2 separate regions of the Homo sapiens genome follow, and region 2 is linked to region 1. Evidence: promoter capture Hi-C in human tissues and cell types (Jung and others, 2019). All regions are on one chromosome and are shown on one strand. The core of a region is centred on a gene start or on the middle of the fragment in contact, and the rest is flanking DNA. Distances in the headings are between cores, read along the strand shown. Region 1 holds the start of DAOA (D-amino acid oxidase activator). Region 2 overlaps LOC105370345 (a long non-coding RNA gene).

The links. Contacts are between HindIII fragments. The study calls those that stand out against the background at their distance.
Region 2: a contact is called between a fragment that was not itself captured here and the fragment with the promoter of DAOA in region 1, in 2 of the 25 tissues and cell types used here (dorsolateral prefrontal cortex and spleen).

The regions. Positions count from the first base shown.
Region 1 is chr13:105,463,686-105,468,051 of GRCh38, reverse strand. DAOA (D-amino acid oxidase activator) reads right to left here and starts at 2,007. Exons shown (of 6, transcript NM_172370.5): 1 at 1,992-2,007; 2 at 1,720-1,836; 3 at 911-999. The coding sequence starts at 1,763. DAOA-AS1 (DAOA antisense RNA 1) reads left to right here. Exons shown (of 7, transcript NR_040247.1): 5 at 1,632-1,865. The HindIII fragment of the contact is 13,308 bases long and covers 586-4,366 here.
Region 2 is chr13:105,571,580-105,575,945 of GRCh38, reverse strand. It overlaps LOC105370345 (a long non-coding RNA gene), which reads left to right. Exons shown (of 7, transcript XR_931698.2): 7 at 2,599-3,870. Among named protein-coding and RNA genes, the nearest start is that of DAOA-AS1, 68 kb to the right of the region's middle. The HindIII fragment of the contact is 3,031 bases long and covers 1,063-4,093 here.

The DNA of each region.
Region 1 (4,366 bases), core at 758-3,257:
ACGAGCCAAGGCATGCAGGAGGCCTCCAGAAGCTGGGGCAGGCAAGAGAATGGACTCAGCCCTGGAGCCTCCAGAAGGCATGCAGCCCTGCCCATTCCTTGCTTTTAGCCAGGTAAGATGTCTGTCAGCCTGATGAGAACTATGAAATAATGAATGTGCTTGTTTTTTTCACCACTAAATTTGTGCTTATTTGTTATAGCAGTGATAGAAAACTAAGACAAGGCTATATCTTGGCATGTCAGATTTTAAGTTATCTGCTATAGTGTAGAAAAGCCCAGAGAAGGAGCTGCAATTTGTCTCTTTGAAAAAAAAAAAAAAAAAAGGATCACCTTCTAGGGGATTAAACATTAATGGGCTGGGTGTTGTGGCTGACACCTGTAATCCTAGCACTTGGGGAGGCCGAGGCGCTGCTGCACTCCAGCCTGGGCAACATAGTGAGACCCTGTCTCCAGAAAAAAAAAAAAAAAAGAAAAAGAATTAAACGTTGACAGATTATTAAGTGAGGCACTGTGTGAGACCTAGCTTGGGTTTGCGCCTATAGATATTTAAAAGTTGATCCAGGTTTTCACTTGAAAGCAGAACTACTGCCTTAAATTCCCACTTCACAAAAATAAATCATGGATTGAGGGAAAAATTTACTTGTTTGCTTTATAAAAAGAGATATCGATCTCTTCATAAGTTATATATGTTTTACAAGGTTGCACTGTTTGAACTGTAAGTGTGAATGGTTGCTAACACTCCAGAAACCAAGAGGTACATTTTAACTGGAAAAATTTTCTTCCTGTATCTTACAAATTAATTGAAGTTTGTCTACGCTTGAAAATATGTCAAAAGTATTATGTAGCTTTACCACAGTTTTATCTAACTTCTAGAAGAATTTAAATTCATATAAAGATAAAGAGTAACATACCAATAGAGTTTAGAGAGTTTTCAGATTTGCTCAGAAGAATGCTCCTTTGAAAACCTATGAAGTAGATTTTACCCAATGTATATCTGGATCTAAAAATTAAAGAAAATATCAGTCGTGTTCAGATTCCTTTATACCCTGCAGAAGAGAGAAAGAATAAGCAACATCAATGGAGCATATAACATGTATGGTTTAGCACTTTCATATTTTTAATCTTAACTATTCAGCCAAATACGTCTTATTTTTTTATTTTTATAGATGAAGATATTGAGGTTTGCATTTTTTTTTTATAAATTGCTCAGTCATACAGTTGGTAAATAGCTGACAGGAGAGTTCACTCCAGGTCTTACTGGCTCTCAAACCTTTGCTTTTTAAAAATCTCCAAACTAGCGCCTCTCCCTTTTAACTGCAAAATAAGCACAAAGTTATCCCAGTTCTACACAGTGCTAAACAAATTCCTGTGAGCAAACAATTAGCACAGGCAGATGGAGTGAGGGGGAGGTGGTTTATAACAATGGAAAGCTGTCTGCCTGCTGTGGATTAAAGATTCAAACTCTTTGATCCTCCTCCCAGGGATAGGTGAGGGCCTATGTCTCCTCCTCATTAACATGAGTGATCCTTGGCTAGGTTCTCCTTTGACTGACAGAATATGGGAGAAAGTAAGGCTGAACCATATACTGGGCTCAGGCTTCCAACCCTGACATGTTCCACTTCCTGTCTCCAGGAACATTCACCCTGGGAGCTCTGTGCTGCCATGCAAATGTCACATTGCACTGAGGCCGCCATGCTGTAAAAAACCCCAAGCTACCTACCTGAAAAGCTGGAGAGAATCAGCACCCATCAGCTTTTCCAGCATTTTGGGTCCTCCCAGCTAAATCATCGGCATTGTGAAGCAGAGATGAGACCTCCTGCCATGCCCTTTCCAAATCCTGGACCAACAGAATCATCATATACACTAGTAAGCTTTTACTTTAAGCCACTAATTTGGGGTGTAGCTCTTTTGCAGCAAAAGATCATCAGAACACTGCCATGCAGGAGCTGATAAACTTGCTCACTGTTATGTATGTATCCAATGACTACTCACACACACATTACTTGCTTCACTCTACTTTCTGGCTTTCCATTCAGCAAATTTTAAGAAATGAAAATGTTATTCGTGGGAAATTAACTCAAGATCAATATTGTTGTAGTTAATCTCTTTGTAAATGGTAAAATATTAAATTATTGTGAGTCATTTTTATTTAAAGAAGTTTGGTTCTTTAAATGAAAGAAGTTTGGGTCTTTTGTGGATACTCTGCATATAGACATTCTAGACATGAAAGAATGTTGAAGACAAAGAATGTTGAAGAAATATAGACATGAAAGACTGTTGAAGTTTGGTTTTTTGTGGATACTCTGCATATAGACATTCTAGACTGGAGTGATACATCTTGTTCAGGTTTCTATGTTTTTAAAATGATAACTTGACACGCCTACCAATGCCAATTTTTAGGATATATATTTGTATATCTGTGTGAACTAAGGAAAATTCAGGAATGATTAAACCTACATATTTTGCCAGGAGAGACTGGATAATGTAAGTCTTTATATTTTTCACAACTTCAAGTTTATAGCATCCAAATGAGCAATTGCTGACATACCTAGGGGATTTCTCTGCAGGTTCAAGTCTGATCTGGCCTGAGGGCAACACTCTTACTGAGTGTGTTCCTAGGCACTCCTTGGCAGTTGGCTCCAGGCCACAATAAAGAGCCCTGATGATTCTCTGAGCAGGCCCAACTTCCATTCACATTCATGGGAATATGAGGATGACTTGTGATCTTCAGGACTTAGATAGACTCTTTCAGTTGGTGTAGGGTAAGCTCAGCTCATCTCTAGAGACTTCCCACAGTGGAGCTCATGCATGACTCTGTGCAGGTGGCACAGGACAGCCAGAGACAGGCACCTAAGGAGTGCACTACCAGCAGGTGGACTCTCCACTGAGGGAGGTAGACAAGGGAGAAAGCCAGGTGTCCACATGGAGCAGGCCTTACTCAGGGAGACTGAGATTTTGCTCTACACATCATAAAACGTGGAGGTCATTAATGGAATTTTTCACAGGACATGACTGCCATAGCCATGATAGGGTCCCTGGCTAATCTTTCAATTATGATAGCATCATAAGATAATTTTGAATATGAGGAGAGAAGAATAACTCTAGAACTGCAATATCCAATATGGTAACCCCTAGCAACCTAAGGCTACTTAAACTAATTAAAATTAAAACTTTAGTTCCTCAGTGCCACTAGCCATATTTCAAGTACTCAATAACCACACACACTTGGCTACCATGTTGGACAGCACTGACATAGACCATTTCCATTACTGCAGAAAGTCCTCCTATTTGACAGTCCACCTCTGGAACCAATCCGGAGTCTTTAGGGACCTAAAAGACTGAGGTGCTAAATCTCAGAGCAGTACTCTGCTTAATGCTTAGTTAAAAGACTTGCTAATCTATATAGTTGATCTAGAGAACTTTAAAGGCAGCTAGTTCGTAGCAACTATGTTGCTGGACCTTGAAACTGTATGTCAGGAACTTGGTGTTCTAGTGGTGACTTCTCTTTTATCTACCATGTTCACACTTTTCCTACCACTCATTTATCCATTCAGAAAGTATTTCAGAAGTCCCTATGATTTACCAGGTGCTATTTCAGACACTGAGGCACTGTGGGGAACAAAACAAACAAAGTCTCCTTTCTCAGGGATCTCACATTCCATGTGGTGATGCAGACTGTAAAAATTCACACACAGAAGATACTTTCATACAGTAGGAAGTTTTATGAAGAATATTTCAAAAGGGGTGTGGGGTGGGAGAGGTTGATGTTCAGGTGTTTGCTTGAGAATGAACTGTTCATACAAAGAATCAATAATTCATTTGTTCCACAAATATTTATTGAGTACCTGTTATTAGCAGGCTACTTTATTAGGTTGCCAGAGCAGGGTTTTCTTAGCACAATTAAAACACAATAACATTTGTTAGAAATTCAAAGACCCATGTCCACTCTTGCATAATGAATCAGAGTCTCGAGGTTATGGTCCAGAGACTGGTGTATTTAAAAATCACTGAAGTAATTTTAAGGTATAGCCAGAATAGAGAGGACACCGGCATTCTTCCTGAAACTCAACACACTAGACAATGAGAAATCATTAAAATGAAGTAAATATTTTGATTGAGATTGTTTTGGCTTCAAAATTAATAATAGCTTGGAGAGGAAAGAAGGTAAATTATAAAAGACAATTAAGAATCTCTTAAATGTATTTAGATAATAGTTACAGAGGGACAAAAATGAGTAGGATCTGTGATAACAGAAAGAATAAAAATAAACAAAAGGACTTAAAAAAGTAAGAATAAGAAAGAAGTCAACAGTAACCCAGAAATTTTCAACCTCATGTCTAAGAGAATGATGATGCTATTTAGCAATA
Region 2 (4,366 bases), core at 1,329-3,828, 110 kb before region 1:
ATCAGTCCCTCAAAGTCTTAACTCATTCCAGCATTAACTACAAAGTCCAAGTCCAAAGTCTCATCTGAGACAAGGCAATACCCTTTCAGCTATGGGCCTGTAAAATCAAAAGCGAGTTAGTTACTTACTAGATACAATGAGGGTACAGGCAATGGGTAAATACATCCATATCAATTGGGAGAAATTGGCAAAAACAGAGAGGCCACAGGCCCCATGCCAGTCCAAAATCCAATAGGGCAGTCATTAAACCTTAAAGTTCCAAAATGATCTTTGACTCCACGTTTCACGTCCAGGTCATATTGGTGCAAGAGGTGGGCTCCCACAGCCTTGGGCAGCTCCACCCCTGTGGCTTTGCAGGGTACAGTCCCCCTCCCCGCTGCTTTCATAGGCTGGCATTGAGTTCCTGCAGCCTTTCCAGATGCACGGTGCAAGCTGTTTGGTGGATCTACCATTCTGGGATCTGAAGGAGGGTGGCCCTCTTCTCAAAGCTTCAATAGGCAGTGCCCCAGTGGGGACTCTGTGTGGGGGCTCTGACCCCACATTTCCTTTCCACACTGCCCTAGCAGAGTTCTTCATGAGGGCTCCATGCCTGTAGCAAACTTCTCCCTGGATATCCCAGCATTTCCATACATCCTCTGAAACCTAGGCAGAGGTTCCGAAACCTCCAATCTTGTCTTCTGTGCATCCACTGGCCCAACACCACGTGGAAGCTGCCAAGGCTTGGGGCTTGCACTGTCTGAAGCAACAGACTGAGCTGTACCTTGGCCCCGTTTAGTCACAGCTGGCATTGAGCCAGTTGGGACTCAGGGCACCATGTCTTGAAGCTGCACAGAGCAAGGGGGCCCTGGTTTTGGTTCAATAAGGCATTTTTTCATTTTAGGCCTTCAGGCTTGTGATGGGAGCGGCTGCCATGAAGGTCTCTGACATGTCCTGGAGACATTTTCCCCATTTTCTTGGTGATTCACATTTGGCTTCTTGTTACTTATGCAAATTCCTGCAGTGTGCTTGAATTTCTCTCCAGAAAATGGGTTTTTCTTTTTTATTGCGTCTTCAGGCTGCAATTTTTTAAACTTTTATGCTCTGATTACTCTTGAATGCCTTGTTGCTTAGAAATTTATTCTGCCAGATACCCTAAATCATCTCTCTCAGGTTCAAAGTTCCACAGATCTCTAGGTCAGGGGCAAAAAGCTGCCAGTCTCCTTGCTGAAGCATAGCAAGAGTCACCTTTGCTCCAGTTCCCAACAAGTTCCTCATCTTCATCTGAGATGACCACTTCACTGTCCATATCACTATCAGCATTTTGGTCAAAGCCATTCAACAAGTTTCTAGGAAGTTCCAAATTTTCCCACATCTTCCTATCTTCTGAGCCCTCCAAGTCTCTAGAAAGTTCCAAACTTTTCCAAGTTTTCTTGTCTTCTTCTGAGCCCTCCGAATTGTTCCAACCTGTTCTTGTTACCCAGTTCCAAAGTGGTTTCCATATTTTTGGGTATCCTTATAGCCCCACTCCCTTGGTACTAATTTACTGCATCAGTTTGTTCTCACACTGCTAATAAAGACGCACCCCAAACTGGGTAATTTATAAAGGAAAGAGGTTTAATTGAATCACAGTCCTGAGGCTGGGAATGTCTCAGGAAGCTTACATTCATGGCAGATGGGGAAGCAAACACGTCCTTGTTCACATGGCAGCAAGAAGGAGAAATACTGAATAAAGAGAGAAAAGCCCCTTACAAAACCATCAGATCTCGCGAGGACTCACTCACTATCATAAGAACAGCCTGAGGAACCACCCCCATGATTTAATTACCTGCTACCGGGTTTCTCCCTTGACACGTGGGGATTATTGGAACTACAATTCAAGATGAGATTTGGGTGGGGACATGGCCAAACCATATCACCAAGATATAAAATTAAGTTGCCTCACTTTAATAACAAGGTTGAGTTACATTTTAAAATTATTATTAAAGTATATATGTGTGTGTGTGTGTGTGTGTGTGTATATATATATACATATATGTCTTTAAAGTTATGTTAAGTGTTCCATGTACTACTGTATTGAGCACATAGAGGTGCTCAGTAAATGTCAATGTTAGGTGAATAAATGAGCGGATAAAATATGGACCAACTTAGCTGGTCAGTGAGTTTATGGTTACTTATCTTTGAGAAGCATCTTTTGCCTTTCTCCATATTGAGATTGTTTAATTGAGCTGTGTAACTTTTGTATATGTTATTATATGTGTTTAAATTTTGTATATATTTTGTCTACCTTAGTAGCAAATTTTATTGAGAATATTTTTTTCTCAAAATAGCATCCCTTTAAACTAGAAAAAAAAACAGTTTTTATAGCTCTCTTTTGAACTAAATACTAAAGAATAAATTGGTCAAGTTCTTTCTCTGATCATGAAGTACCTGCAAACTGCTTCCCATAAATGACAGAAAAGGTTAAGAGACATTACCAGGATGGCTGCCCCAAATTGTTGCTGGTATCATTAAAATAGTCAACAAAAATGTGGAGCCTACAGCCTTGTAAAAATAGGAACATTTAAATCCATACTTTAGTCATTTCCTCTCCCTGATTTATGTTTTCTTGGTTGTTTGCAGGCGCAGTCAACAGCAGTGGAAGAGCTGGCTCATGTGTGGCTCAGGCTGACTCCACAATCAGAGTGATTATGTGGAAATCAATCAGAATTTTCTTCTTAGAAGATGTTTGTTCTGACATAATGACTGACTTTCCAGCTAATTTTTATTCATAGGCTTCTCCTTGCACAATGATCTCTATTTCTCTCAATGTTATTCTGTGTCTTTCTTGCTTGCCTGCACATTCTGAAAAAAAAAGGAAAGCAATTCCCTACATTTTATTTTGATACTTAATGTTGTTTGCTAACATATTCAGAACACAATGCAACTTTATATATTAGAGCACTTATAATATATATTAGGAAAACATCAATTAGGTACCACCAGTTATTTTAGACAGGTATCTCTTAGGTAAAATGTGGTGAAAATAGAGGGGCAATGATAGAATTCATATGTGAAAGAGTCAATTGGCCATCATTATGCCAAAATTATTTTGTGGTTCAGGGGACATTTTAAACTTTAATTTTTAAGAATTAAACTTTAATTAAATTTATTGTAGTTTAAATGCAATCACAAGGAAAGACTCTGAACTGGAAACACCAAGCCAAGCTCTTTCCTAGTTCTGGTCCCCTATAAACCCTGAAAGTTAATGCAATTATTGTAATTTTTAAACCACCGAGTTCTCAGGGTGATTAGTTATGCAGCAATAGATAGCCTGAAAAGGACCATTCTTTCTGGCACTGAAAATTAAGAAGAGTGATTAACAACATAAGAATGTAGTTTGTGCTGTCTGCCACAGATTTATGTTGTAGCTTCAGTGATTGCTTCAAAGCACCCTTACTAATTGCCAGCCTATTGCTGATACCTAGCTAAATTAGCATGTGTTAGTTTTGATACCACTATAGGCATTTAAAGGATAGCTGATACATTCTATATAAAATATAATTATTTTCCTATCTTTAGTTTATCCTAAAGTAGCAGCTATTATATTCGCTTCTTGATTAGCTTTATACATAACCAGAGAAAGTAAAATATCACAGAGTATATTTGAAGACATAAAAGTCTTTGGACAAAGCTCAAGTAATGAATCAGGATGCTATTACATCCTCCACATGACAGTAAATATATTTTATATTCCTAAATTTTAAGCTTTTAACAAAAGCAAATTTTATACTGGACTATTTCAATTTCTAGGGAAAGGAAATTATCATTTACTGTCTTTGAGGCTATAATCTATTTAGCCATTATTTTTATATTGATCAATTTATAATAAAGGTAAGAGAAAATACTACCACATATATGTTGTTTATATAATTTTAACTTTCATAATTAAAATACTGGGTATACTGCAAGATGTCAATATTTATAATAGCTTATATTTGGAAACAATTATACTTTATATACTCCTAATCCATTGCCTTGTGTGTCATTGAAGAAATTGAAGTTCACAATAATGACTGAACAAATGCTCAAAGCTGGTCTGTGGCAGAACCAAAAATTTCCATGGCACCTTTCTCTTTCCATATTGGGGTGATCTGCCTAATTTGACTTTCTGCTTATATGTCTAGACTCTACCCCTCATTCCTTCTGCTAGTGTGTTGTTGAACCCTTTCTATTAACCCACTCTCGATTTTTCTGTTGCACAATCAATCTGTAGCCTGAATGTTGAGTCCCAAATGCATGAGCTACCTGGCCGAGTAATCTAACTAGATTAGCCTGAGTATATCACTTTAAGGCCAATGTAAAGTTATGTTGTAACTACCTCATAGTTTTGCAGAGGCAAGAAATAGAA